4 separate regions of the Homo sapiens genome follow, and regions 2, 3 and 4 are each linked to region 1. Evidence: promoter capture Hi-C in 16 types of primary human blood cells and fetal thymus (Javierre and others, 2016). All regions are on one chromosome and are shown on one strand. The core of a region is centred on a gene start or on the middle of the fragment in contact, and the rest is flanking DNA. Distances in the headings are between cores, read along the strand shown.

What was found. The method cuts DNA at HindIII sites, captures the fragments that hold promoters and counts their contacts. A CHiCAGO score of 5 or more calls a contact.
Region 2: a contact is called between a fragment that was not itself captured here and the fragment with the promoter of KLC3 in region 1, in 1 of 17 cell types (M1 macrophages). The highest score is 5.0, in M1 macrophages.
Region 3: a contact is called between the fragment with the promoter of RELB here and the fragment with the promoter of KLC3 in region 1, in 1 of 17 cell types (M2 macrophages). The highest score is 5.0, in M2 macrophages.
Region 4: a contact is called between the fragment with the promoter of CLASRP here and the fragment with the promoter of KLC3 in region 1, in 1 of 17 cell types (M0 macrophages). The highest score is 5.6, in M0 macrophages.

What each region holds. Positions count from the first base shown.
Region 1 is chr19:45,336,075-45,343,701 of GRCh38, reverse strand. It overlaps KLC3 (kinesin light chain 3), which reads right to left and starts at 2,952. Exons shown (of 13, transcript NM_177417.3): 1 at 2,856-2,952. RefSeq lists a silencer at 2,967-3,056. The HindIII fragment of the contact is 17,587 bases long and covers 1-7,627 here.
Region 2 is chr19:44,965,764-44,973,390 of GRCh38, reverse strand. It overlaps CLPTM1 (CLPTM1 regulator of GABA type A receptor forward trafficking), which reads right to left. Exons shown (of 14, transcript NM_001294.4): 3 at 181-304. Among named protein-coding and RNA genes, the nearest start is that of CLPTM1, 14 kb to the right of the region's middle. The HindIII fragment of the contact is 617 bases long and covers 2,018-2,634 here.
Region 3 is chr19:44,998,898-45,006,524 of GRCh38, reverse strand. RELB (RELB proto-oncogene, NF-kB subunit) reads right to left here and starts at 5,061. Exons shown (of 12, transcript NM_006509.4): 1 at 4,840-5,061; 2 at 3,529-3,576. The coding sequence starts at 4,945. RefSeq lists silencers at 4,228-4,507, 4,828-5,237. The HindIII fragment of the contact is 31,053 bases long and covers 1-7,627 here.
Region 4 is chr19:45,035,653-45,043,279 of GRCh38, reverse strand. It overlaps CLASRP (CLK4 associating serine/arginine rich protein), which reads right to left and starts at 4,235. Exons shown (of 21, transcript NM_007056.3): 1 at 4,172-4,235; 2 at 2,969-3,096. The coding sequence starts at 3,067. It overlaps RELB (RELB proto-oncogene, NF-kB subunit), which reads right to left. Exons shown (of 12, transcript NM_006509.4): 12 at 5,088-5,875. The coding sequence ends at 5,490. RefSeq lists an enhancer at 3,692-4,561. The HindIII fragment of the contact is 10,693 bases long and covers 3,575-7,627 here.

The DNA.
Region 1 (7,627 bases), core at 1,703-4,202:
ATTCTTTCAAAAACAATCTGTATACACTCCCAACACACAGGTATATTCTCTTAGAAATAAAAACCAAGCCTGGGCGCGGTGGCTCACGCCTGTAATCCCAGCACTTTGGGAGGCCGAGGTGGGTGGATCAGTTGAGGTCAGGAGTTTGAGACTGGCCTGGCCAACATGGTGAAACCCCGGCTCTACTAAAAATACAAAATTAGCCAGGCATGGTGGTATGCGCCTGTAGTCCCCAGCTACTCATGAGGCTGAGGCATGAGAATTGCTTGAACCTGAGAGGCGGAGGTTGCAGTGAGCCAAGATCACGCCACCACACTCCAGCCTGGGTGACAAGAGCAAAACTCCGTGTCAAAAAGTGATAATATTATTTAAAAAAAAGAAAGAAAAGCCAACCCACGCAGAAACTAACTCTGTCTCTCCCACTCCCCAAATCACTCACATTCAGACCATCTCCTTGCACTTGACCGTGACACTCGCTGTCCCCCGAACTCACATGGCTCCCAAGCAGCCAACTCCCCACAATGTGCCCAACGCACCTCCAGATGCACACACTCCCAAGATTCACTATGGATCCCTCGCCAGTTTCCCTACTTCCTCTCCCTCCCACTCCAGGCCTGGCCAGCAGGGACTCCCACACCTACACGCCATGCACACACAAGTACTCAGATTCAGCTCCACTGTCGGAACAGAGAGCTGTGAATACGCGTGGAGGGATGCCACGTTCTCGCACACTTCACTCAAGCCACTGCATCCACCATAAGCAGCCCAGCGGTTTTTGCACATGTTGTACATGCACGATCACATACAGTAAGGGTCCTGTACGTTTTGTGCACCACAGACTTGATCGTCATTGATCTCTCCCTCTCTCTAGATATATGTATGTGTATATATGTGATGTATATATCAACCTTTAAAAAATTTAATTTTATTTTTTTGAGACTGAGTCTCGCTCTGTTGCCCAGACTGGAGTGCAATGGCATGATGTTGGCTCACTGCGATCTCCACCTCCCCAGGTTCAAGCGATTCTCCTCCCTCACCCTCCCAAGTAGCTGGAATTACAGGTGCCCGCCACCACACCTGGCTAATTTTTGTATTTTTAGTACAGACGGGGTTTCACCATGTTGGCCGGGCTGGTCTCAAACTCCTGACCTCAAATGATCCACCCGCTCCCCCCTTGGCCTCCCAAAGTGCTGGGATTACAGGCGTGAGCTACCGCGCCCAGCCAACCTTTTTTTAATTTTTAAAAAACTAAACTATGCCCAGCTAATTTTTGTTTTTGTAGAGACGGGGTATCACCATATTGCCCAGGCTAGTCTAGGATTCCTGGGTTCAAGCAATCCCCGCCGCCTCAGCCTCCCAAAGTGTTGAGATTACAGGTATGAGCCACTGCACCCGGCCAATCTGTGTGCTTGTGTATATCACACCATACCTATTCTCACACCTCACACACAAACATCATAAATGGTTGAACTCACAACCACACAGGTTCAAGAGTCATCCTGACAACCACAACCATTCTTCACACAATTTTGCCGATGTAAAACCTCCCTCTATAACCTCAGACACAGCCTTACACACACCACTCCACAGCCAGATTGACAACCACAGCAACAAACACGGCTCAACCACAGCCATCCAGCACTCGGGCTGTGTCCCAGACACACAGCAGCTCCCACACTCACACAGAGCCCCGGGTGCACAACCGCACAGCTGATAATCATAGGCACAGTCCCACACACTGATCCCTGACGCGGACCCCCTTTTCCATCCTGTCACCCGCTTGGAGGAGCATCCCACTTAAATGTCCACGTCTCCACTCCCATCTCCCACAAACTCTCCGTTGCACACCACTGCCAGCCACGGTATCAATGCAGATCACACACCCTCTAGTTCCTCTCTACACACACACACACACACACACACACGCACACACGGCTTCACACACCTCCACACCTCACTCATCCAACCCCAAGGTTCCACGCGCACCGTCCCATGAAACAGCTCCACTTCTGGACACAGTTCCGCCCAGCCCCATGCACCATCACAGTGACACACAATCAAAAGTCAATCATAGTCACCTATCACTGATCCAGTGCCACACTGTCCACCACACGCGCGCGCGCACACACACACACACACACACACACCAACAGGCAGAAAGACAACCACAGCCGCACAGCCTCTTGGTCAATCACACCTAATCCTACAACCAGTTCCACTCTCTGCCATGAAGACAGCCACACACACAGCCACACACATGCACATCAGGCCAAGCAGAAAGTCGACTACAGTCGCACTAGCTCTTGGTCGTAAAGTGCTACCAGCAATCCAATTCTACACACACACCATTCCAGTCAGAGGTCGCCCACGTTTTCACATTGCTAAAAGTGTCACATCATACACACAGTCCCATCACAGGGTTACACGGACAGTCGCTTTCACCCTCATACCCACAGCCTGACACACTCTCTTACACACACGCAAAGCCACACACACACACACACACACACACACAAACACAGGCAGGCAGGAGACTCCCATCGTGGCCCAGCCCCGCAAGCCGCACCAACTTACCCTGGCCTGCCCAGCCCCGCGCACCAGGCTCACCCGCAGTCACAAGGGCCCCCTCCCTCTCCCTCCCAGGCCCCGCCCCGTCCTCGCTGTTTACCTGCGCTGGGGTGGGGGGCATGGGACCCCAGCCAGGCCTCCAGATCCCGGAGAGCCCCAGGACGGGGCAGGGGGCATCCGGGAGCCCCAAGGCCCTTCCCCGTCTCAGGGCGAGCGGGCCCAGGGTTGCCCCCGCCCCCCATCATCGCGGCTCTCCGAGAGTCCCGCGCCCCACTCCCGGCACCCACCTGACCGCGGGCGGCTCCGGCCCCGCTTCGCCCCACTGCGATCAGTCGCGTCCCGCAGGCCAGGCACGCCCCGCCGCTCCCGCTGCGCCGGGCGTCTGGGACCTCGGGCGGCTCCTCCGAGGGGCGGGGCAGCCGGGAGCCACGCCCCCGCAGGTGAGCCGGCCACGCCCACCGCCCGTGGGAAGTTCAGCCTCGGGGCTCCAGCCCCGCGGGAATGGCAGAACTTCGCACGCGGAACTGGTAACCTCCAGGACACCTCGAATCAGGGTGATTGTAGCGCAGGGGCCTTGGCCAAGCTAAAACTTTGGAAACTTTAGATCCCAGACAGGTGGCTTTCTTGCAGTGCCTGCCCCAGAGCCTTTTCCTTGGTTGTGTGGCCTGCTTCGATCTCTCTTCCCACAGATCTCATCGTCTTTAGGTCTCTTCTCAAAGGCCACCTCCTCCGGCAGGCCTTCCCTGATTGCCCCCTTCTAAATGGCACCCTTCCACCAAAACATTACATACTCCTCTTGATTTTGTTCACAAAACTTTTCAGGGCCTAAAATTACCTTATTTATTTATTGAGAGGGAGTCTCGCTCCGTCACCCAGGCTGGAGTGCAGTAGCGCGATCTCGGCTCACTGCAACCTCCACCTCCCAAGTTCAAGCGATTCTCCCATCTCAGTCTCCCGAGTAGCTGCGACTACAAGTGTCTGCCACCACGCCCGGCTACTTTTTATATTTCTAGTAGAGACGGGGTTTCGCCATGTCGGCCAGGCTGGTCTCAAACTCCTGACCTCAAGTGATCCTCCCGCCTCGGCCTCCCAAAGTTCTGGGATTACAGGAGTGAGCCACCGCCCCCGGCCCCTAAAGTTATTTTATATAACATATATCACATCATTATGTTATGTTATATATTATGTTATTGGCAAGGGAATGTGATATCTAAGAATTGGGCTCAGGGTTCAAATTTGATTCCGGCACTTACTTGCTGTGCAGGCCTTGGGCAAGTAACTTAACCTCTCTGTGCCTCAGTTTCCCTAGTCAATAAAATATAAATAGTCTAAGGCTTTGAGAATTGAATGTTAACTAATACAGGGACAGTACTTTTTTTTTTTTTTTTTTTTTTTTGAGACACAGTCTCGCTGTGTTACCCAGGCTGGAGTACAATGGCGCTATCTTATCTTGGCTCACTGCAACTCCTGGGTTCAAGTCATTCTCCTGTCTCAGCCTCCCGAGTAGCTGGGATTACAGGCGCCCGCCACCATGCCCAGCTAATTTTTCCATTTTTAGTAGAGACGGGGTTTCCCCATGTTAGCCAGGCTGATCTCGAACTCCTGACCTTAGGTGATCTGCCCACCTCGACCTCCCAAAGTGCTGGAATTACAGGCGTGAGCCACCGCGCCTGGCCAGGACAGTACTTTTATCAGGGCCTCGCAAATAGAAAGTACTTAGTAAATACTCGCTACTGACTGTATATTATGGGTTCACTTTTTCTCCTCTACTATATAAGCTCTGAGGGCAGGGCTGTATATTGTCAGCACTGTTATCTTCAGCAAGAGCTTGATGCAAAGTCGGTGCTCAATAAATTGTGACTGAATGAAGGAATCAAGTCCTAGAATAGTAAGCTGGCCAAAGCTGGGAGGACACGATTCTAATATAACTTGAGGACGGCGCAGTGGCTCACACCTGTAATCCCAGCACTTTGGGAGGCCGAGGGGGCTGGATCACTTGAGGTCAGGAGTTCGAGACCAGCCTGGCCAACATGGTGAAACCCTATCTCTACTAAAAATACAAAATTAGCCGGGTGTGGTAGCGCACGCCTGTAATCCCAGCTACTTGGGAGGCTGAGGCAGGCGAATCGCTTGAACCCCAGAGGCAGAGGTTGCAGTGAGCCGAGATCACACCATTACACTCCTGCCTGGGCAACAAGAGCGAAACTCCATCTCAAAAATAAATAAATGCATACATACATACATGGCTCAATGCGCGCGGTACCCCGGTCACTACACTATGAAATGCTTCCAGCAGAGGGCGCTGCTGGTCCGTGGACCAAACTCCAGACTCGGCACAGCTCCGCGCTCCCTCCGAATTGCAGCCAACGTGCCCTCTACTTCCCTGTTGTCTGAGCCCCAGTGCTGATGCTTCCTCCTCCAGGAAGCCCTTTCTTATTTCCCAGGTTTCCAGGCTCTTGGGCTCCCACATCCAGCCCTGCCAACTCTGGGTCATCAGTGTGGGGAGACAGGTCAGTCCCATATTAGACTATGAGCCCCAAGAAGGGAGGAGGCGGCCAGGGGCCATGTCAGTCTCCACTGTGTCCCCAGTGCCACCTAGCACAGGCCCAACGCAGAGAAGGCATTTGGGAGAATAGGTGCTGATTGAATCATGGAAATAAAAATTCAAACTCATATCCTAACTACTCCAGCATTTTTTTTTTTTTAAGACAGTCTTGCTCTGTTGCCCAGGCTGGAGTGCAGTGGCACGATCTTGGCTCATTGTGTAACCTCCGCTTCCCAGGTTCAAGCGATTCTCCCGCCCCAGCCTCCCAAGCAGCTGGGATTACAGGCACCCACCATCATGCCTTGCTAATTTTTATATTTTTGTAGAAATGGAGTTTCCCATGTTGGCCAGGCTGGTCTTGAACTCTTGACCTCAGGTGATCCACCCACTTCGGCCTCCCAGAGTGCTGGGATTATAGGCGTCAGCCACCATGCCCGGCCTACTCTAGCTTTTTTAAAAGACAGGTGTCACTCTGTCACCCAGGCTGGAGTGCAGTGGCAGTCGTAACTCACTGCAGCCTTGATTTCCCGGGTTTAAGCAATGCTCCCTCCTCAGCCTCCCAAGTCCCAGGTAGCTGGGACTACAAATGCACCACCATACCCAGCTACTTTTTGTTGTTTTTTGTAAAGATGGGGGTCTCCCTATATTGCCCAGGCTGGTTTTGAACTCCTGACCTCAAGCGATCCTCCTGCCTTGGCCTCCCAAAGTCCTGGGATTACAGGCATGAGCCACTGTGCCAAGCTCCAGCTATTTCTTTCTTTCTTCCTTTTTTTAATTAAGACAGCATCTCACTGGGAGTGGTGGCTCATGCCTATAATCCCAGCACTTTGGGAGGCCTAGGAGGGCGGATCACCTGAGATCAGGAGGGCGGATCACCTGAGATCAGGAGGGCGAGACCAGCCTGACCAATATGATGAAACCGTGTCTCTACTAAAATTACAAAAATTAGCCGGGCTTGGTGGCATGGGCCTGTAATTCCAGCTTGTCAGGAGGCTAAGACAGGAGAATCACTTGAACCAGGGAGGCGGAGGTTGCAGTGAGCCAAGATGGCGTCATTGCACTCCAGCCTGGGCAACAAGAGCAAAACTCCATCCCCTAAAAAAAAAAAAAAAAAGACAGTGTCTCTGTTGCCCAGGCTGGAGTGCAATGGCATGATCTCGGCTCACTGAAACCTCCATCTCCCGGGTTCAAATGATTCTCCTGCCTCAGCCTCCAGAGTAGCTGGGATTACAGGTGTGCACCATCACGCCCAGGTAATTTTTATATTTTTAGTATAGACAGGGTTTCGCCATGTTGGCCAGGCTGGTCTCGAACTCCTGACCTCAGGTGATCTACCCGCCTCGGCCTTCCAAAGTGCTAGCTCCAGCTATTTCAACAGCACAGGATCGAGGGGCAGCAGAGCCTTCCCCCTGCCCCCCATTTTTTTGGCCTCACGACGCTGGACATTGGATCTGGATCTGCTACACGCTTACCACAGGCAGTGCAGGGACTGGAGCCAGGCCAGCAGGGACAAATCTCAGCTGGGTCATTTGCTAGCTGTGTGACCCTCTGAGCCAAGAAGTAACCTCTCTGGACCTCAGATTTCTAGTCTGTCAAACGAGACTCACAGGGTACCCTACTTTAAGGCTGTGGTGAGGATTACTGTATAATCCCCCAGAAAAGGCTTAGAACAGGGTAGCACCCGGTAAATACTATGTGTGTTGGGGGAGGGCAGGGGATGGAGCCGGGCGGGGAGCCAGGCAGATCTAGGTTTAAATCCTGGCCCTGCCATTTCTGTTCCATGTAAACCGGGGGAACAATGATCTCTGGCTGAGCCTCTGTCTCCTCGTCTAGTAAAATGGGGATGATCACACTCATCACACAGCATTGAGGTGAGACTTAAATGAGATAAAGATTGAAAGAAGAAGAAAGTGTTAACTAAGGAAAACCTTTCTTGCTTTTGTTGCTGCTGTTGTTGTTTTTGTTTTTTTGAGACGGAGTCATGCTCTTTCTCCCCGGCTGGAGTGCAGTGGCACAATCTCGGCTCACTACAACTTCCGCCTCCCAGGTTCATACAATTCTCCTGCCTCAGCCTCCGGAGTAGCTGGGACTATAGGCACGTACCGCCATGCCCAGCTAATTTTTGTATTTTTAGTAGAGACGGGGTTTCACCGTGTTAGCCAGAATGGTCTTGATCTCCTGACCTCGTGATCTGCCTGCCTCGGCCTCCCAAAGTGCTGGGATTACAGGCGTGAGCCACCACACCTGGCCAGGAAAACCTTCCTTTAGGCCAGCGGTGTTCCAAGTACTTTTGCACAACGCCAACAATGGCTGATGTTTGAGTTCTTACCCCAGACTGGCCCTGTGCCAACTCCTATATACAAATTGTTAATCTTCACACCAGCTGCGATGATTCGCTCCATTCCACAGGTGAAAAAGATGAGGCACAGAGAGGCTGAGTAACTTGTCTTAGGTCACACAGCCAAGGAGTAGCAGAGCCCCAGAATCTTTGTAGCTGACCCCCCAAGGTAGGCA
Region 2 (7,627 bases), core at 1,077-3,576, 370 kb after region 1:
CAGGTGACAGAGGTCTCACGTGTTGGGGATGGGCCCAGAGTTCCTCAACCCTGGACCTGTTTTCCTAGACCTGCCAGTGAGCAAGGACCTGGTCTGTCCCGACTGCTGACATCACTCCTCCACATTCCACCCCTCCACACCCCATCACCTCCCAAGTCTGCCCTACCACCCGGCAGTTACCATTAAAGTGTCTTTGGGGAACAGGTTGCGGCTGGCGACGCGTGGAGCTCCTCCGGGGCCCGCCTGGTCCTGAGGGGCCGGCCCTCGGCGGAACCAACTGCTGATGGCCCAGATGATGAAGATCCTGAGGAGAGAAGCAGCAAGGTGGTGAGTCCCCAAGCCTTGGCTCTCCGCCATAGACCCGCCTGACTTCCTTCTGACTTAGCACATGCTGGCGCCTGACCTGGGGCTAGTGACCAAGTCAGGGAGGCCCTGAGAAGGTAGTCACAGGGCTGGCAAGGAGATAAGATGTCCCTAAAGACCACATCTGGGGAGGGAGCCCAGATGCCACCGTTTGCCAGTGTGTGGGGGTAGCTGGCACTGCCCTGGTCTGCATGCAGACCCTTGACTCTAAATCCTGCAGGAGCTCCTGGTGACCACAGGGCTGCAGGGGCTGACTCTTGACTCAGACTGGGAAACCTGCCATCCAGCCCCCTGGGATCCCCCGAGAGGAGACTAAGAATCTGGAACCCCTTCAGTGTGCAGATGGATGAATTAAAAGAAAAAAGAAATAAAGAAAAAATAATAAACATAAAATTTTTAAAAGAAAGAATCTGGAATCCTAGCGCTTCAAAAGCACAGAACCGGGGATGGTTAATGGCTACAAAAAATAGAATGAACGAGGACGGGCGCGGCGGCTCATGCCTGTAATCCCAGCACTTTGGGAGGCCAAGGCGGGCGGATCACGAGGTCAGGAGATTGAGACCATCCTGGCTAACATGGTGAAACCCTGTCTCTACTAAAAAATACAAAAAAATTAGCTGGGCATGGTGGCGGGCGCCTGTAGTCCCAGCTACTCCGGAGGCTGAGGCAGGAGAATGGTGTGAACCCAGGAGGCAGAGGTTGCAGTGAGCCAAGATCGCGCCACTGCACTCCAGCCTGGGCAACAGAGCGAGACTCCATCTCAAAAAAAAAAAGAATGAATGAGATCTAGTATTTGGTAGCAAAACACGGCAACTCTAGTCAATAGTAATTTAATTACACATTTTAAAATAACTTAAGAAGTATAGAGGCCAGGCACAGTGGCTCATGCCTGTAACTTTGGGAGGCTGAAGTGGGCAAATCACGAGGTCAAGAAATCGAGATCATCGTGGCCAACATGGTGAAACCCTGTCTCTACTAAAAATACAAAAATTAACTGGGCCTGGTGGTGCGTGCCTCTAGTCCCATCTACTTGGGAGGCTGAGGCAGGAGAATCACTTGAACCCGGGAGGCGTAGGTTGCAGTGAGCCGAGATTGCGCCACTGCCCTCCAGCCTTGCAACAGAGTGAGACTCCATCTCAAAAAAAAAAAAAAAAAAAAAAGTATAATTGGGTCAGGTGTAGCAGCTCATGCTTGTAATCCCAGCACTTTGGGAAGCTGAGGCAGGCGGATTGCTTGAGCTCAAAAGTTTGAGACCAGCCTGGGCAACATGATGAAATCCCGTCTCTACAAAAAATATAAAAATTAGCTGGGCATGGTGGCCCATGCCTGTAGTCCCAGCTACTTGGGGGACTGAGGTGAGAGAGTCACTTGAGCCCTGACGGTCAAGGCTGCAGTGAGACGTGATTGCGCCACTGCACTCCAGCCTGGGAGATAGAGAGCTTGTCCCAAAAAAATTAATCAATTAATTAATTAAATTTTTTAAAAAAGAAAAGGAAAAGAACCGAAGGCACAGAAGCTTAGAAAGAGCAACATTTCTGAACTTTTGGAGAATTTTTGGAGAAGCAGATAGTAAGTGATACGTTAGTTCCAATTTTAGTAACAGTGGGCTTAATTATTCAGACCAACCCTCTCACTGGAAAAAATTGGAAAAGCTTGATAAAATTAATACACTAAGAAAATATCAATATATTTTATATTTGTAATTATACATATTGATAGAATGAGAATATATGCTGCTCACGTATTCTCGTATTTGTTCTCATGCATGTAATTTTTATCAAGTTTACATATGAATATATATAAATAGACAGCTCTGAAGAATGGACACGACTGTAGGTTACCAAACCTTCAGGCAAAAACTGAAGGGAAAGTGGGAATCCTAAAGTAGTAAAGGATCGGCCGGGCGCGGTGGCTCAAGCCTGTAATCCCAGCACTTTGGGAGGCCGAGGTGGGTGGATCACCTGAGGTCAGGAGTTCAAGACCAGCCTGGCCAACATGGTGAAACCCCATCTCTACTAAAAATACAAAAATTAGCCAGGAGTGGTGGTGCATGCCTGTAATCCCAGCTATTCGGGAAGCTGGGGCAGGAGAATCGCTTGAACCCAGGAGAAGGAGGTTGCAGTGAACCGAGATCGTGCCATGGCACTCCAGCCTGGGCAACAAGAGCAAAAAGTCCATCTCAAGGAAAAAAAAAAAAAGAAGTAAAGGATCTTGGATTTGCAGGTCTAGGGGAAAAAAAAAAAAAGAATAAGTAAAGGAGCCCTATAAGCTTCTTCATGTGTCCGAGGACATCTGCTAGGTGTTTTGGTGGGTGACAAAAATGCTGGCCTAGGCTGGGCGCGGTGGCTCACACCTGTAACCCCAGCACGCTGGGAGGCTGAGGTAGGTGGATTGCTTGAGCCCAGGAGTTTGAGACCAGCCTGGGCAACACACAGTTTCTACAAAAAATACAAAAATTAGCCAGGCATGGCAGCACGCACCATGCCTATATTCCCAGCTACTCAGGAGGCTGAGGTGGGAGAATCACCTGAGCCCAGGAGGTCGAGGCTGCAGTGAACCACGATCATGCCACTGCACTCCAGCCTGGGCAACAGAGTGAGACCCTGTCTCAAAAAAAAAAAAAAAAATGCTAGCCCAGGGCACATACAACATATGAGGTAACCAGAGACCTACCCTATAGGAAACTAAGACCCCACAAGGTGCAAGCCTCCACCCCTGAGAAGGAAGGAACCAGGTGGCCTACCCATTCCCAGGAGTTGCACAACAGGTATGCAGGGCGAAGTATGCAAGGCCACTCGTGGGATAAGGAGTCACGAAGGGCAGCTCAAGCCCTGAACCTGGTGCAAGGAAACCTAGGACTTGGTAATGCCCCCAGGCAGAAGCAAAGGCAATCCTCTCTGTAGGAAAATATGCTCATCCTAGCCCTGAAATTCCTACAAATAACTTTTCAAGTATAATGACTAGGACACAGACAGAGATAAGCCAGGCACAAAAGGAAACGACATTATGAGCGAGAATCAGCAGCAACAACAGATACCAAAACCAAAACGAGGCTGGGCGTGGTGGCTTACACCTATAATCCCAGCACTTTGGGAAGCCAACACTTGAGGTCAGGAGTTCGAGACCAACCTGGCCAACATGGTGAAACCCCATCTCTACTAAAAATACAAAAATTAGCCGGGCGTGGTGGCGGGCGCCTGTAATCCCAGCTACTTGGTAGGCGGAGGCAAAAGAATCGCTTGAACCTGGGAGGTGGAGGTCGCAGTGAGCCGAGATCATGCCACTGGACTCCAGTCTGGGTGACAGAGTAAGACTCCATCTCAAAAAAAAAAAAAAAAAAGTGTCCTTAAAGAGAAGAAATATTCCTTCTTGATTTATTCTTCTCTCCTGTTGCCTGGAGTGTGGATGTGATGGCTGAATCTTCAGCAGCTGTCTTGGGCTATGAGGATAAAGGGAAAAACCTAGCAATGGCACAACAAACAGCAAGGAGTCTGGGTCACTGAAGACTGCAGAATCCTAGTCTGCCTCCATCCAGACTGGTATATCAGAGAGAAATGAACCTGTACTGTGTTAATGGAGGTTTCTCAGCTGCATGCAGCCATGTGATTAAATGATTCAAGTACTTATTAATTATAGGTATGATAACCATACAGCAGAAGAGGTTATGAGCCCAGCCTCTAAACTACAGTATCTTCATCTGAAGCCCAGCTCTGCTACTTACTGTGACCTCAGTGGTCAACTTCAATGGTTGAAATGGGGATAATAACAGTGCCTACTCTCATAGGGTAGTTTATAAGCATTAAACACATTAAATTATATATATGTTTATATAGCGTGTATATACATCTGACACACGCACACGTACCTCAGAATGGAGCCTGGTGCATACCCAGTAAGTGACTGAGAAGTGTTAGCTATTACTGTTATTTTAATCATAGGAAAAAGGCATACAAAAAACTTTGGAGCAGAAAAACACTATGAGTAAATTCTAGTGTGGGTGGGGTGCCTCCCTGCTGAGCCCTGATCAGGGGCAGGATCAGGCACAGGAACTTGCCTCTGCCTGTAGAAGCCACAAGGCCCTGGGGTCCAGGGTCTTAGGGGCCACGGTCCAGCTGAGCCATCGCTACCTCCCCATGAAGTCCCTGATATGCACGTCTGGGGAAGGTCTGGACCTGGCAATCTCTGGGGATACCGATGCCTCCAGCAGAGGCTCTCATTTTAGTAAACACACCAGGGGAGAGTGTAGAAGCAGTGATGCCCCCAGGCAGCTCTGCCCCTGGCTTAGTGTGTGGCTGTGGGGGTCCTAACCCCTCTGGGCTTCTAGATCCCCATGTATAAAACAAGGCCAGGCCTTTTTGGATTCCAGATCCCCAGTCCCCTGAAGAACGTCCTGTGTGTATCCACACGCCCACAGTTCTGTGGACCCTCTCAGAGGGCTCATGGCCATGGCCCCTCATCCATGCACCCAGGCCTGCAGGAGACTGGACCTTTCTAATGCTTCCTGATGTACTTGAGTAAGCAAAGAAAACAGACATTAAATCCTTTCTCCCACCCAAATAGGTATTCTACAGTCACAGGTTCAGAACATTTTTAAATATATGAAAAGACGTATAATCAAAACTCTCCCTCCCACCCCATTCCTTTATATACCCAGTTCCTGCTCCACCTCCCACTCCAGGTAACCACATGTGCTCAAAAACACAGACGCCACCCGCTATCTAGAAAGGCTATTCCCACATAATCAGCTTCAAGCTACAAGGAGTTCATGGGCCCCTGAAAACAAACCCTGGATCCCATTTTAAGAACTGCAGCCAAGATGGTCTCCGAGCACCCACCCGAACTGATGTTTGATGCTGCCTAGTTCTAAGAAAGGAAATTAGCCTACAGTGTGACTTGTATTAAAAATGTCTCTCTGAAGGAAGCTCCCTATGCACTGACGTGGAAAGATTTCAAAGATATATTGTTAATGAAAAAAATCAAGGAGCAGAACAGTGTGTAAAACAGGCTACCTCTTATGTAAAAATGAAGGGAAAGATAAAAATAATTTTCATGCAGAGCTGCTTGCAGCATGAAAAAAAAGAAGGTGATATATAAGAAAATCTGAAGTCTTTACGTGGCCATGGGGAGGGGAGGTGAAGTGGAGACGGTAAGGGACAGGGGCGCATGACTGAGAAGCGTAGGGCACATGGCAGGAATTTTTGAGGCACACATGTCAGTTTTGCAACTTAACAGAGTGGGGAGGTTTCTTTCCTGCAGTTTCTCAGTGTCCTGTGTGACACTCTTGGAGGACACCAGGCAGGCAGTTCTGCTCTAGTCTAGAATGTGATCAGTGACTACATCAGGGATCATGAGTTGTTTTTTTTTTTTTTTGGGACAGAGTTTCACTCTTGTTGCCCAGGCTGGAGTAAAATGGCATGATCTCGGCTCACTGCAACCTCCGCCTCCCGGGTTCAAGCGATTCTCCTGCCTCAGCCTCCTGAATAGCTGGGATTACAGGCATAAGCCGCCATGCCCGGCTAATTTTGTATTTTTTGCAGAGATGGGTTTCTCCATGTTGGTCAGGCTGGTCTGGAACTCCCGACCTCAGGTGATTCACCTACCTTGGTCTCCCAAAGTGCTGGGATTACAGGCGTGAGCCACTGCACCCGGCCTCATGAACTTTTTTTTTTCACTGTTTCACTATATATTTCCTAAGGTTTTTGTTTGTTTGAGATACAGTCTCACTCTGTTGCCTAGGCTGGAGTGCAGTAGTATCATCACGGCCCATTGCAGCCTTGACCTCCTGGGCTCAAGCGATCCTCCCTCTTCGGCCTCCCTAATAGCTGGCACTACAGGTGTGCGCCATCACACCCAGCTAATTTTTTAGTTTTTTACAGAGATGGGGTCAGGATAGGCGCGGTGGCTCACGCCTGTAATCCCAGCACTTTGGGAGCCCGAGGTGCGTGGATAGCGAGGTCAGGAGATCGAGACTATCCTGGCTAACACGATGAAACCCTGTCTCTACTAAAAATACAAAAAATTAGCCGGGCGCTGTGGCGGGCGCCTGTAGTCCCAGCTACTCGGGAGGCTGAGGCAGGAGAATGGCGTGAACCTAGGAGGCGGAGCTTGCAGTGAGCCGAGATCGCGCCACTGCACTCCAGCCTGGGCGACGGAGCGAGATTCTGTCTCCCAAAAAAAAGAGAGAGAGAGAGAGAGATGGGGGTCTTACTGTGTTGCTCAGGCTTTTTTTTTTTCCACGTTGAACAACAAAAGGAATCATGGCCAACATTGTCTGTGTGCGTGCCAGCTCCTGCACCCCTCAGTTGACATGAATTCTCTTGGAATCCTTCTGATGCACCCTGAGCTAATTGTCAAGATTCCCTGTCTGTGAGGTGGAAAATGAGGCTCAAGAAGGGTGATAACCTGACCAGGCCACAGAGCTCAGAGGTGGCAGGGCTGAGATGTCAGCAGGGCTGTGCTCTTACACGCTATCTGACACTACCTGCCCCCCGCCTCCTAACTTTTCTCTATTTTAAACAACTCTATCTGTGAGCATCTATATATAATCCCATTTAGGGCCAATTACAAAAATGTGTGCCTATGGGATGGCCACCAACACATTACACTTTTTTATTTTTGAGACTGTGTCTCGCTCTGTCACCCAGGCTGGAGTGCAGTGGCGGCATCTTGGCACACTGCAAGCTCCGCCTCCTAGGTTCACGCCATCCTCCTGCCTCAGCCTCCCGAGTAGCTGGGACTATAGGCGCCTGCCACCATGCCCGGCTAATTTTTTATATTTTTAGTAGAGATGCAGTTTCACTGTGTTAGCCAGGATGGTCTCGATCTCCTAACCTCGTGATCCACCCACCTCGGCCTCCCAAAGTGCTGGGATTACAGGCGTGAGCCACCGCGCCCGGCCCACATTACACTTTTTCATTAGCTTTTTCTTTTCACTCTTCGTATTGTTTGAACTACTTAATTTTGTAAAATAAACACTCATAATTTATAAGCTAAGGGAAACCAGTAATAAGATTTTATGGAAGAGATAAGTAGCTGCCCCCCATAACCACTCTCCTCTTCTTCCTCAGTAATAGGAGCCCTGCTTTCCAGCAGGGTGCTCAGTTTCCCAGATTAAAGACCACATTTCCCAGCCTCCCGTGCAGCTGGCCATGGCCATGTGAAGACATTCTAGCCAAAGGAATGATTGTTTTATTTTTTTATTTTTGTTTTATTTTTTGAGACGGAGTCTCGCTGTCGCCTAGGCTGGAGTGCAGTGGCACCACCT
Region 3 (7,627 bases), core at 3,812-6,311, 340 kb after region 1:
TCACAATGAAGGGGATTTTCTCGCTGGGCACAGTGGCTCATGCCTGTAATCCCAGCACTTTGAGAGGCCGAGGTGGCTGGATCAGTGGAGGTCAGGATTTTGAGACAAGCCTGGCCAACGTGGTGAAACCCCGTTTCTCTAAAAGTACAAAAATCAGCTGCGTGTGGTGGCACACGCCTGGAATCCCAGCTGTTTGAGAGGCTGAGGCAGGAGGATGGCTTGAACCCGGGAGTCGGAGGTTGCAGTAAGCCTAGATCACGCCACCGCACTCCAGTGTAGGCGACAGAATGAGACTCTGCCTCCAAAAACAAAAAGGGAATTTTCCTTCCCATTCTATCTCACTAGTTCTCGTATCCCCACCCTGTTATTAAATATCATTGACCCCAAGGTTTCTTCATAGCCCTTATCACATTTTATAATCCCATATTTAACTTATTGTTTACGTGTCTGCCTCCTCATCTAGGTAGGGAACCCCAGGGCCAGGCCTGTCCTCAGCACTGCTCGGCACAAGGCCAGGTACAGAACAGGCGCATAATAAATATTTATTGAATGGATGACATCAGAAATAACTCTCATTTGAAACCAAAGATCTAGGTCTTGGACCAGAAAAGTCTCAGCCTTGGCCGGGCACGGTGGCTCATGCCTGTAATCCTAGCACTTTGGGAGGCCAAGGCAGGCAGATCGCTTGAGGCCAGGAGTTCCAGACCGGCCTGGCCAACATGGCAAAACCCCGTCTCTACTAAAAATACAAAAATTAGGTGGACATGGTGGCACACGCCTATAATCTCAGCTACTCGGGAGGCTGAGGCAGGAGAATCACTTGAACCTGGGAGGCGGAGGTTGCAGTGAGCCGAGATTGTGACACTACACTCCAGGCTGGGTGACAGAGCGAGACTCTGTCTCAAAAAAAAGAAAAGTCTCAGCCTTGTTCCTGCGCAGGACCACCGCTTGGGCAGTGTCTGTCACTGATGCCATCCTCCCTAAACTCACAGACCTGTTGGGGAACCGGCCTCACTTCTTCAATGGCCAAGCCAGAACTTGGGTCCATCCCAAGATTATATCTCCAGAGAAAGGCCCAGACCCAGCTAACTGGAGCCACTGAGTATTCATAACAACAGGACTACCCCTGCCCTCCAAATCCTGGCAAATGTATATAAGAAAAAATGTCATAATTTGGTTGAGATTCTGCATTTCCTTGGGCAGCACTGAATTTTGGCTGGGGGACTTTATAGACTAGTAGTTCTAGGCATCTCTTGGGAGCTTGCTAAAAATGCAAATAATTTCTCATCCCAAACCTACTGAATCAGAAACTCGAGAGGTGGGGCCTGACATGGTTTTTTGTTTTTTTTCCTGAGACGGAGGCTCTTGCTCTGTCACCCAGGCTGGAGTGCAGTGGCACGATCCCCGCTCACTGCAACTTCCGCCTCCCGGGTTCAAGTGATTCTCCTGCCTCAGCCTCCCAAGTAGCTGGGATTACAGGTGCCTGCCACCACGCCTGGCTAATTTTTTTTGTATTTTTAGTAGAGATGGGGTTTCAACATATTGGCCAGGCTGGTCTTGAACTCCTGACCTTGTGATCTGCCTGTCTCGACCTCCCAAAGTGCTGGGATCACAGGAGTGAGCCACCACGGCCGGCTGTTTTTTTGTTTGTTTGTTTGAGACGGAGTTTCACTCTTGTTGCCCAGGCTGGAGTGCAATGCCATGATCTCGGCTCACGGCAACCTCCACCTCCCAGGTTCAAGTGATTCTCCTGCCTCAGCCTCCTGAATATTTGGGATTACAGGCATGCGCCACCACGCCCAGCTAATTTTGTATTTTTAGTAGAGATGGTGTTTCTCCATGTTGGTCAGCCTGGTCTAGAACTCCCGACCTCAGGTGATGAGCCTACCTCGGCCTCCCAAAGTGCCGGGATTACAGGCATGAGCCACCACATCAGGCGACATTATGTTTTAACTAGCGCTATGGATGATTCTGATGCACATGGTTTAAGAACCACTGTCTGGCCAGGCACGGTGGCTCGCGCCTGTAATCCCAGCACTTTGGGAGGCCGAGGAGGGCGGATCCTTTGAGGTCAGGAGTTCGAGACCAGCCTGACCAACATGGAGAAACCCTGTCTCTACTAAAAATACAAAAAATTAGCTGAGCGTGGTGGCACATGACTGTAATCCCAGCTACTTGGGAGGCTGAGGCAGGAGAATTGCTCGAACCTGAGAGGTGGAGGTTGCAGTGAGCCGAGATCGCGCCATTGTACTCCAGCCTGGGCAACAGGAATGAAACTCCGTCTCAAAAAAAAAAGAACCACTGTCTGGCCAGGCGAGGTGGCTCACACCTGTAATCCCAGCACTTTGGGAGGCTGAGGCGGGCGGATTACCTGAGGTCAGGAGTTCAAGACCAGCCTGGCCAACATGGTGAAACCCCATCTCTACTAAAGACACAAAGTGGGTTGTGGTGGCGGGTGCCTGTAATCCCAGCTACTCAGGAGGCTGAGGCAGGAGAATTGCTGAACCCGGGAGGTGGAGATTGCAGTGAGTCAAAATCGCATCAATGTACTCCAGCCTGGGTGACACAGCGAGACTCTGTCTCAAAAAAAAAAAAAAAAAAAAAAAAAACACAAAAAACAGACAAAAAAAACCCACACACACACCAAAAATGAACCACTGTTATAGACTGTCTAGTAATAATAATTATTATCGTTATTATTATTATACCACTAACAGTTAACACTTACTGAACCCTTACTGTGTGCCAGATACTGCTTGGAAAGTGTACCTGTATCAATTCATTGAATACTCTCAATTTCCCTGAAAGAGAGGCACTGTTATTCTGTCCATCTTACAGATGAGGAAAACTGAGGCCTGAACTGGGGAACTGACTTGCAGACATTCACACAGGGAGGGGCGATGACAGCAGTATGTAAACCCCAGCTCCAAAGCCCAGGATGGCAGTGATTACCTTCTACTAAGCCACAGTGAATCTCTAAAGAAGCCTTTGCGCATGGATAGGTGGTAAGATTTACCTGTCACGCTTTTTTTTTTTTTTTTTTTTTTTTTGAGTCGGAGTCTCGCTCTGTCTCCCAGGCTGGAGTGCAGTGGTGCGATCTCGGCTCACTGCAAGCTCCGCCTCCCAGGTTCACGCCATTCTCCTGCCTCAGCCTCCCGAGTAGCTGGGACTACAGGAGCCCGCCACCACGCCCGGCTAATTTTGTTTTTGTATTTTCAGTAGAGACGGGGTTTCACCGTGTTAGCCAGGATGGTCTCGATCTCCTGACCTCGTGATCCGTCCGCCTCGGCCTCCCAAAGTGCTGGGACTACAGGCGTGAGCCACCGCGCCCGGCCACCTGTCACGCTCTTAACAGTCCAAGAGGTAAGAAAACCTAGGGGGCCCATCTCAACTGGCAGGGAGGGATGCACCCTGTCAGGAGAAAGCTGAGGTGGACCTCGTGAACCCCCAAACAGAGACATCTCTGTGGAGTCCTCCCAACCTCATCCTGCATGAGCGAGTGGGCAGGAACTGTGGAGGGCTGCTCACCTGTGCTCCTGGAAACGGCGAGCGAGAGTGAGGAGAGGTCGGGGGACCCTGCAGAGAAGGAGAAACGTCTCAGGAGGTGATGGGGGGCAGCCAGAGGACCAGAGAATATCCCAAGGAAGCCCCACCCCTTCCTCTTCTAGCCCTTCCCCTCTGGATCAGGCCCCTCGCCCTGACTGCCCCCCTGCGTCTGGCCAGGCTTACCAGCTAAATCATGGACAGGTCCTGGCCTTTAGTTTCTGTGGTTCGCCCCACCCTTCATCACACTCAGGGCCCGCTCCTTTTCTCCCTTAAAGTTGGGCCTGGAGGGGACCCCATCTCAATCTCAGTTTAAAAAGTCCCCATCCCGCTGGGCACAAGGGCTCACACCTGTAATCCCAGCACTTTGAGAGGCCGAGGCGTGCGGATCACCTGAGGTCAGAAGTTCGAGGCCAGTCTGACCAGCATGGTGAAACCCCGTCTCTAGTAAAACTACAAAAATTAGCCGGGTGTGGTGGCGGGCACCTGTAATTCCAGCTACTCGGGGGGCTGAGGCAGGAGAACTGCTTGAGCCCGGGAGGCAGAGGTTGCAGTGAGCCTAGATCGTGCCACTGCACTCCAGCCTGGGCGACAGAGCGAGACTCCATCTCAAAAGAAAAAAACAAAAAACAAACAAAAAAAAACATCCTCCTGTCAGGGTCAGACCACTTTTAATTTTTTCAATGTCAAGGCTCCGCTTCTCCGTCTGGAGGCAAGCCCCACCCCCTCCTCATTCTCTGTGTCGGGCCCCGCCCTGCTTTTTTGGGTAACAGGCCCTTCCCCTCCACTCGGCCAGAGTCAGGCCCCGCCCCTTCCCCTTCTTTCGGCCAACTCAGGCCCCGCCCCCTTCCTGCCCTCACGGCCAGGCCCCGCCCCCTCACCCCTCAGCGTAGGGCCCTGCTTCCTTTTTTGAGTCAGGCCCGGCCCTCTTCTCATAGTCCGGGTCGGATCCCGCCCCTCTTCTCCCTCTCTGGGCCCGGCCCCGCCCCGATACCGCCCAAGAGCAGCTTTCGCTCCGCCTTCTCTGAGTCAGGCCACGCCCCCTTCTTTGCCTCAGGGTCAGGCCCCGCCCCCTCTCACTCTACAGCGGGACGCCTCGCTCGAACCTCGGGCCGTACCCCCTCATCACCCTCTGCCTTCTTCCTACGCCCTAATACAGTGTCTCAGGAACCCTCACTCTGCCCCCGCGAAACCCTTAGACTCCCATAGGAACCCCCAGACTACTCCGGGACCGCCAGAATCCCCGCATCTCCAGCCCCGCCCCAGACCCCTCTCCTGAACCCCAGCCCCGCTTACCTAAGGCCCCCAGCTCCGGCGCAGCCGGCGGTCTGGCGACGCGGCGACTCGGCATGGCCCGGCCAGTGGGGACGGACGGCCCAGAGGCTGGCCCAGACCGAAGCATGCACGCGGGCCGGCCGGGCGGCCGGGAGGCACGGTCTGGTGGACGATCGCGGGTCGGACGAGCGGCGCAAGGGCTGGGGCCGCAGGCCGGGCAGGACGCGCGGCGCCCGGGGCTGCGCGGGGCGCGGGGCCGGGCCGGGCGGGCGGCGGGCGGGGGCGGGGCGGCGGAATTCCCCGGCGCCGCCGGCCTGCGCGCCCATTGGTCTGCACCCCGCCGTGACGTCACGCCTGGGGAACGGGAAAACCCCCACGCGTCACGTGATCGCGGGGGCGGGGCCGGCCGGGAAAGGGAGGCTGGGCGCTCAGGAGGGGTTGGGCAGGCGTCGCTGCCCATTGCTCTGGACGAGACAACTGAGGCCTGCTTAGAGCCATCACGCCTTACCCATTGAGCAAGCCGGCAAACTGAGCCGCTCCCCGCTTTGGTCTCCCAGTGGGACTTGAACCTGCCGTTTCTCAGGCTGGAAGGGGAGCTTCAGGATCGAGAGGTTGGCAGGGCTCTACACCTGCCATCCATAATAATATTTCGGAAACCTCCAAGGTCTCGCTACACCTCAGTTTCCTCAACCGTAAATTGAGGATGAAGATATTTAAGGAACGTTTAAAGCTAGCGTGTCAGCTTCAGAATTTATGTTTTGTGCGTTGTTGTAACCCCAACGCCTAGACCAGCGCCTGGAACACCGTAGGTGCCCAATAAATGTTTATTGGAGGCCGGGCGCGGTGGTTCATGCCTGTAATCTCAGCACTTTGGGAGGCCGAGGCAGGCACATCACGAGGTCAGGATTTCGAGACCAGCCTGACCGACATGGTGAAATCCCATCTCTACTAAAAATACAAAAATTAGCTGGGCGTGTTGGTGTGCGCCTGTAATGCCAGCTACTCCGGAGGCTGAGGCAGGAGAATAGCTTGAACCTGGGAGGCGGAGGTTGCAGTGAGCTGAGATCGTGCCACTGCACTCCAGCCTGGGCAACAGAGCGAGACTCCCATCTCAAAAAAAAAAAAGTTTATTGGATGAATGCATGGATGTTTTATTTATTGGTTTGTTCCTCCCTGCAGCCCCTGAAAGTTACCCATAAATAGCCCAGACCACTTTGAGCTCAAAAGCTCAGTTATTCAGTCTGCGAATGGCAGCAGTGTAGCCTCCGTATACATCCTGAGCTGTGTGCCTAAACCCTGAGCTCATCCCTATCACCAGCGCCAGAAGCATATGATAGGATTATTGCAGAAGGGACTCAGGCTGAAAGAGGGGCAGCCATTTGGCTAGATCACATTCCTAAGCCTCTCATATTCCTGAGAACGACTAGGTGATCTATTAGGTTCTAAGTTGGATGCCAGGCGCTCTCAGACCACAGATGCAGGGTTTGTTGTCTTTCCTTTGCTTGTATAAAATTTGGGTGTTCTGGCTAGGCACGGTGGCTCACACCTGTAACCCCAATACTTTGGGAGGCCGAGGCAGGAGGATTGCTTGAGCCTGGGAGGTTGAGGCTGCAGTGAGCTGTGATGACGCTATTGCACTCCAGCCTGGGTGACAGAGTGAGACCTTGTCTCAAAAAGAAAAAGAAATAACTCTGTAAGTTGAATGTTCACAACAATTGTGTGAAGTATATGGTGTTATTGATCCCCACATAGCAGATGAGAAAACTGAAACCCGGCAAAATTAATTTCTCCAAGGTCACACAAATTAATAGACACAAATATTTAAAACACAAAATTCTTAGAACAGGGCCTGGCACATGTGGGTGCTATATACAAATGTGAACTTTTTTTTTTTTTTTGAGGCAGGGTGTCACTCTGTCACCGAGGTTGGAGTGCAGTGGCAGGAACATGGTTCACCACAGCCTCAACCTCCTGGACTAAGGGGATCCTCTCACCTCAGCCTCCAGAGTAGCTGGGACTACAGGCACACACCACCGCATCCGGCTAATGTTTTCTTTTCTTTTCTTTCTTTTTTTTTTTGAGAGATGGAGTCTCGCTCTGTCACCCAGGCTGCAGTGCAGTGGTGCGATCTCAGCTCACTGCAATCTCTGCCTCCCGGGTTCAAGCGATTCTCCTGCCTCAGCTTCCCAAGTAGCTGGGACTACAGGCATGAGCCACTGCGCCCAGCCTGTTTTCTATTTTTGTAGAGAGAGGATCTGTTGCTTAGGCTGAGCCAGTGCACCTGGCCAAAGGGCAACTAACTATTAACATCATTTTATTTAATACTCATGACCGTCCTATTATTAGACCCACTTTACAGACGGGAAACTGAAGCTCAGAGAGATGAAGTCAGTTGCCTGAGGCCACACAGCTGGTGAGCTGGGACCACAGGTGTGCGCCACCATGCCTGGCCTAATTTTTGTGTTTTTAGCAGAGATGAGGTTTCACCATGTTGCCCAAGCTGGTCTCAAACTCCTGGATTCAAGCGAGCTGCCTACCTCAGCCTCCCAAAGTGCTGGGACTACATTTCTTTCTTTCTTTTTTTTTTTTTTTTTTTAGTAGAGATGGGGTTTCACCATGTTGTCCAGGCTGGTCTTGAACTCCTGACCTCAGGTGATCCGCCTGTCTTGGCCTCCCAAAGTGCTGGGATTACAGTCGTGAGCCACTGTGCCCAGCCCTATTTCTTTCTTTTTTTTTTTTTGTTGAGATGGAGTCTTCCTCTGCCACCCAGGCTGGAGTGCAGTGGCGCGATCTCGGCTCACTGCAAGCT
Region 4 (7,627 bases), core at 2,986-5,485, 300 kb after region 1:
CCACCACGCCCAGCTAATTTTTTGTATTTGTAGTAGAGACGGGACACACACACACACACACACACACACACACACACACACACAAAGTATTCCTTATCTGAAGTGCTTGGGATCAGAGGTGCTTCAGATTTTTTCAGATTTTGGAATATTTGTCTATTCATAATGAGATATCTTAGGGATGGCACCCAAGTCCAAAGACCAAATTCATTTATACTTTATAAGCACAGCCTGAAGGTAATTGTATACAATATTTTAAATAATTTTGTGCATGAAACAAAGTTTGTGTAAAGTACTTATATGTGAAACTTTCCACTTATAGTGGGGCATCATGTCAGTATGCAGAAAGTTTCAGATTTTGGAGCTAGCCGGGCGTGGTGGCTCACGCCTGTAATCCCAGCACTTTGGGAGGCCGAGGCAAGCAAATCACTTGAGGTCGGGAGTTCAAGACTAGCCTGACCAACATGGTGAAACCCTGTCTCTACCAAAAGTGCAAAAATTAGCCAGGCATAGTGGCACATGCCTGTAATTCCAGCTACTCAGGAGGTTGAGTGAGGCAGGAGAATAGCTTGAACCTGGGGGGTGGACGTTACAGTGAGCTGACATCATGCCACTGCACTCCAGCCTGGGCGACTAAGCAAGACTCTGCCTCAAAAAAAAAAAAAGATTTTGGAGCATTTCGGATTTTGAATTAGGGATGTTCAACCTGTGTATGCGTATGTGTGTGCGTGTGTGTATACATACATACACACACATATATATATATATATAAATTTTTTTTTTGAGATGGAGTCTCACTCTGTTGCCCAGGCTGGAGAGCAATGCAACCTATGCCTCCCGGGTTCAAGCAATTCTCCTGCCTCAGCCTCCCGAGTAGCTGGGATTACCATTTACTCCTGTATTACTGCCCCAGCCTCTTCCCTGGTCTGCTGGCCTCCAGTCCTGGCTCCTCCAGTCTGTCCTCCCTAGAAGAGTCCAGGAGGCCTTTCTAAAGCACAAAACTGACCCTGTCCCTTCATTGCTCAGAGCACCTCTATGGCTCCTAAGTGCCCTTGAGAGAAAGCCCAGGCTCCTCACCACCTCCAGCTAATTTCTGTATTTTTAGTAGAGACGAGGTTTCATCATGTTAGCCAGGCTGGTCTCAAACTCTTGACCTGAGGTGATCCACCTGCCTTGGCCCCCAAAATGCTGGGATTACAGGCGTGAGCCACCACACCAGGCCCATGTATGTGTATCTTAAGTGTGTTAAATTCCACAAAGGGGAAGGAAAGGGAGCTATGATTATGGCATTTTTAGAGGACACCTGACTGAGCTTGGGAAACAAGACTTCTCTGAGGACTGAGATCTGACAGATAAGCAGTAGTTAACCAGGTATGGGAAGAGCTCATACAAAGGTCCTGTGGCTGGGGAGCGCTTGGGTCAGTGGAGGAATAGCAAGGAGGCCAAAATGACTTGTGCAAAGGAACAAGGCAGAGTGTGGGGTGGTGTGAGTCTGGAGGAAGGGCAAAGGCCAGGCCATGCAGGACCCTAAAGGCCACAGTGAGGAGCCTGGGCTTTCTCTCAAGGGCACTTAGGAGGCATAGAGGTGCTCTGAGCAACGAAGGGACAGGGTCAGTTTTGTGCTTTAGAAAGGCCTCTTGGACTCTTCTAGGAAGGACAGACTGGAGGAGCCAGGACTGGAGGCCAGCAGACCAGGGAGGAGGCTGGGGCAGTAATACAGGAATAACTGGGAAAGGTCTATATAAATGTCATCTGACAGGAACACTGAACCTAGAAAACAGGTGCCATTTCAAGCTGGGATCCCAAGGATACACAGGAGTTAAATAGGTGAGGGGGGGTAATATAGGCCAAAGCCCTGTGGTGGCAGAAATAGAAGGCCAGTGGAGCTGTCCGAGTATGAAGCTGAGTGGTCAGACCACAAGGGTCTTTTAGGCCAGGGATAGTTTGGTCTTCCCCGCAAAAACAACTGAAGCATCAGACAGGAGAGGGAAGTGGTCAGGTTTCACTTAATATTCACTCCTTTTTTTTTGAGACAGTCTTTTTTTTTTTTTTTTTGAGACAGAGTCTCGCTGTCGCCCAGGCTGGAGTGCAATGGTGCTATCTCAGCTCACTGCAGGCTCCGCTCTGCCCCCCTCCCCGGTTCACACCATTCTCCTGCCTCAGCCTCCCGAGTAGCTGGGACTACAGGCACCCGCCACCTCACCTGGCTAATTTTTTGTATTTTAATAGAGATGGGGTTTCACCGTGTTAGCCAGGACGGTCTCGATCTCTTGACCTTGTGATCTGTCCACCTCGGCCTCCCAAAGTGCTGGGATTACAGGCGTTGAGTCTTGCTCTGTCACCCAGGCTGGAGTTCAGTGGCACAATCTCCATGCACTACAGCCTCCTCCTCCCGGGCTCAAGCAATTCTCGTGCGTCAGCCTCCCAAGTAGCTGGGACTACATGCACACACCACTAAGCCTGGCTAATTTTTGTATCTTTAGTAGAGATGGGGTTTCACCCTTTTGGCCAGGCTGGTCTCGAACTCGTGACCTCAGGTGATCCACTTGGGATTACAGGCGTGAGCCACTGTGCCAGGCCAACTTAATACTCACTCCTATTGTGTGCCAAGCCAAATCTCAAGAGTGGCTGAGCTCTTCTGGGAATGGGGAACACAGCAATAAGCGAAACAGACATTCTGGAGGTGGCCAGTCTAACGTCAGGACTGCTCTGAGGGTTACAGAGACTTCCCTTTTTCTTGCTAACACCGGATCGGCACTGGGAGGCCACACCAAACGACACAGTATGCTACAACAAACAGAAGCCCTTGGGATCCCACCAATGATTATCCTCAAGAAAAGATTAATGAATATACTCCTGAGGAAATGAGCCTCTTGTCTTGACATACTTCCAAGCCCAGATTTTACCAGGATGACCAGCTGTGCCCCCCAACCCAGGGTCCCTCACCCCAGACAAAAGGCCAGTTACTCACGATCTTTTCATAATACTCCCGTCTCCGCTCCGCCCTCTTCTTGTAGTCGACCATCATGCCTCGAAGCTTCCGCTCATGCTTCCGAGCCTCGTGCCACATTGTGGTGAGGCCAAGCCTGGGGCCTCAACCTGAGGGATGAAGGGACCAGGAAAGTCAGATGGTCTGTGAAACCCGTATGGGCAGAATCAAAGTCATCTAACAAGTTGGTGGCAGAGTCGATCCCAAACAACACATCTCTTAGCTTCAGGGAGCAGAAGTGAAGCTGCAGAACAGTATGCCAGATGTTCAAGTCCATCCCTAACAACTTCGATCTAGAAGCTTGGGCATTCTGAAAAACCCTCAGGTGATTCTGAGGTGAGCATCACTGGGAAAGGGGTGTCCTAGATTCCACGCGCTGGAGTCGGGAATGAAAGGTTTTGAAACATCAGCAGTGTTTGAAGTAGGGTCAGAAGGCAAACCCTGAGCACTTAAGGCTGGAGCTCAAGAGAAAGAGAAGAACTGAAAAGGCTCCCACTAGGGGCCATGCGTGGGGTTGGGTATGAGTCTGGGTGGTAGAGGGATAAGGAGAATAAGGATGAAGGCAGGTGGAGGAAATCGGAGAAAGCTTTTAAGGGAACAGTGCAGTTGTATGAAGGTGGAGGTCGAGGACAGGTGAAGGGCGTGGCGGAAGATGAAGATGCTAGAGGGAGTGGGAACACGGGGAGGGAGTGTTGCAAGGAGACCAGAGTGAAGCTGAGGTCTAAAGATGGGATCTAGATGGCGGGGTGGGGAGAGCATCCAAAGAAAAAGAGCGTAGAGCCTGAGAGAGGCGGAGCTGGCTGACAGGAGGGCGTGGGCTGAGCTTGGGGGCAGGGCTTGCGGGAAAGGGCGGAGACCGAAGGTTTGGACGGGGCTTGTGGATCGCGTCGCGGCCTGAGGATTTGGGCTGGGTTTTTTTTTTGTTGTTTTTTTTTTTGACAAGGGGGCGGGGCCTGTGATAAGCTGCTGGGCCGAAGGCCGAGTTCGACGCGGCAACTTCTGGCCCACAGCCGGGGCACGGGCTCGGCCTGAGGCCCGTCAGGCCTAATGGGGTGAGGGACGAGCGATCCTCGGGGCCGGGACGCAGCAGAAGCCCACAGCAGCATGGGGAGAGCCTGAGGAAAGGGAGAAGCTGGGCTGAGGCCTGCCCGAAAACCGGGAGGTCGAGCCGCAGCCTGCACTCACCGGCTGGTCGCCGCCTCCCACCGCTGCGCTCGCGCGCGGCCCGCACCGGAAGCGGAAATGAAAGGCCGCGCTAGGGGGAGGGGGCGGAGCATGGTGGAGGGCCGCGCAGCGCACTTCCGCCGACGAGAGAGGCGGGTCCTAGAGTCGAGAGGGGCGGGATCCCGAGGAAGAAGTGGGAGAGCGGAGAAGGGAAGAGCTTGGATGCTTTATCTTTTTATCTTTTTTATTTTATTTATTTATTTAATTTTATTTTTTTGAGACGGAGTCTCTCTTTGTCTCCCAGGCTAGAAGGCAGTGGCGCGATCTAGGCTCACTGCAACCTTTGCCTCCTGGGTTTCAGCTATTCTCCCACCTCAGCCTCCCGAGTAGCTGGGACTACAAGCGCGCGCCACCAAGCCCGGCTAATTTTTGTATTTTTAGTAGAGATGGGGTTTCACCATTTTGGTTAGGCTGGTCTCAAACTCCTGACCTCAGGTGATCCACCTGCCTCGGCCTCCCAAAGTGCTGGGATTACAGCCATGAGCCACCATGCCCGGTCTCATTTTTTATTTTCATTTTCATTTTTTATTTTTTTGAGACACAGCCTCGCGCTGTCGCCCAAGCTGGAGTGCAGTGGTGCGGTCTTGGCTCACTGCAACGTCCACCTCCTGGGCTCAAGCGATCCTCCCACCTCAGCCTCTAGAGTAGCTGGGATTACAGGCGCGCAGCACCACGCCCGGCTAATTTTTGTATTTTTTGTAGAGACTAGGTTTCGTCATGTTGCCCAGGCTGGTCTCAAACTCGTGAGCTCAAGCGATCCTCCTGCTTTGGCCTCCCAAAGTGCTGGGATGACAGGCCTGAGCCCCCAGCCTGGAGGCTTTCTTTGCTACTAAGGGACTAGGGCGTTTCCCAAGCCCAGAACAGACGAAACCCCGGAGGCTCAAAAACTCATCTTTATTGGGAAGACTCTGAACAACCAACCTACCCCCCACCTTCAAGTCTGGGGAGGGAGGGCCAGGAATCTGCCCCCTCCTCCCATATGTACAATCTTTTCCGAATCCTACTGGAGAAGGTGCCCCCACATGTGGGGACAGAGGCAGCTGTAACAAGCTAGTGCACGGGAGCCATGTCCCTTTTCCTCTCCGGACTCAGTTTCCTCATCTGTAAAATGGGCTCAAGGGGAAACCCGTGCAACGGAGCTTCTCGCCAAGGCTGAATATGTCCACTTCAGAAGCATGAGGAAGGGCCAAGGGGATGGGGGTGCTAGACATCCTGGTTGGGATTGCACGGCTCCTCCACCTCCCTCCCCACCCAGTGCCCCTCCTCTGGCATCGCGGGGCTACGTGGCTTCAGGCCCCGGGGATAGGAGGCCGCCCCCAAAGGCCGCCTCGCGGTAATGATTGGGGAACATGTTGCTGCCCACAAGGCTGGCGGTGCCTCCATCCCCGGGGCCCGGGGCCTGGTACGAGTCCAGTGTCAGTGGTTCAGGGCCGGGGGTCTCCCCAACCACGGCCCCGGCACCTCCGCTGCACACAACAGCGCTAGCGTGTGGCGGTGCCGGGGGCAGCAGGTCCAGCATGGTGAAGAGTGTGGGGGCCGTAGGGTCGTAGGCAAAGCCATCGTCCAGGAGGTCAGGCCCGCCAGGGGGCTCCAGGCCGGGCAGGGACACGGTGCCAGAGAAGAAGTCAGGGTCTGGCAGCAGGGCTGACGGCGGGAGGAACGGGCCTACGGGGATGAAGACAAGAGAAGTGTAGTGTGATTTAGGGCTAACTTCTGATCAGGCCCTAAATCAAATGCCCTACTCCCTGCAAAATGTGATATCAAGGTGGCCTTTTTTTTTTTTTTTCTGAGATGGAGTCTCATTCTGTCACCCTGGCTGGAGTGCAATGACGTGCTCTTGGCTCACTGCAACCTCTGCCTCCCCAGTTCAAGTTGATTCCCCTGCCTCAGTCTCCTGAGTAGCTGGAACTACAGGCCAGGCATGTGCCATGCCCAGCTAATTCTTATCTTTTTAGTAGAGACGGGGTTTCACCATGTTTGCCAGGCTGGTCTCGAACTCCTGACCTCAGGTGATCCACCTGCTTCGGCCTCCCAAAGTGCTGGGATTACAGGTGTGAGCCACCAAGCCTGGCCTTAGGTGCCCTCTTAATCCCAAGGAGAATCCGTGTGGGACTATCACCATTCTCAGATAATAAGTAAATTGAAGGCCAAGCGTGGTGGTTCACACCTGTAATCCCAGCACAACGTGACGAGACCCTGTCTCTACAAAAAAATTATTTAAAAGTTAGCTGGGTGTGGTGGTGCCCGCCTGTAGTCCCAGCTACCTGGCAGTCTGAGGCAGGAGGATTGCTTGAGCCCAGTTTGAGGCTGCAGCGAAGTATGATCACACCACTGCACTCCAGCCTGGGCAACAGAGCAAGACCTTATCTCTAAAAATAATTAATAATAAGTAAACTAAGGCACTGAGGGAAAGTAAATGGAAGGCTCACACAGCTGTTGTGGAACTGGGGTTGAAACCATGCTCCTACACAGCTGTGGAGAGTTTTCCCTGAGAGTGAGAAAGGAGAAGAGGTTCCAAAGCCCCCCAACATACAGAGACAACCCAAAAAGTGAAATCTCCAGACCATGGGAGACACAAGTTGGGAAGTCACCAGTCCCAAAATTGTCAGAAAAAATAAATGTCATTCTCAGGCATAATGGGGACTTAAGAAAAAATAACAATCAAATCAAAAAGTTTCATTATAAGAGGGATTCTCAGGCCAGGCATGGTGGCTCACGCCTGTAATCCCAGCACTTTGGCAGGCCGAGGCGGGCAGATTACCTGAGGTCAGAAGTTCAAGACCAGCCCGGCCAACATGGCGAAACCCCTTCTCTCCCAAAAATACAAAAATTAGCAGGGCATGGTGGTGGGCACCTGTAATCCCAGCTACTCAGGAGGCTGAGGCAGGAGAATCACTTGAACCTGGGAGGTGGACATTGCAGTGAGCTGAGATTGTGCCACTGCACTCCAGCCTAGGCAACAGGGCAAGACTATCTCAAAAAAAAAGAGGGACTCTCTTTTTGGAACAAGACAAACCTTAGAGACACAAGGGACTATTTTCTAGCCTTCCTTGCAGCCTGATGTGATCATGTGACTAAGGTCTGCTAACTGGAACGTGGGCGTAATGGCTGGAGCTACAACAGCCACCTTGCACCATGAGTTGGCGAACTGAAAATGGCAGAAGCCTCGGTCTCTCGATGATCATGCAGTCACCAGACCATCCCTGGAACACCTACCTATGGACTGTTTTTTGTTTCTTGTTTTTGAGACGGAGTCTTGCTCTGTTGACAGGCTGGAACACAGTGGCACCATCTTGGCTCACTGCAGCCTCCACCTTTTGGGTTCAAATGATTCTCCTGCCTCAGCCTCCCAAGTAGCTGGGACTACAGGCATGTGCCACCACATCCAGCTAATTTTTGTGTTTTTAGTAGAGATGG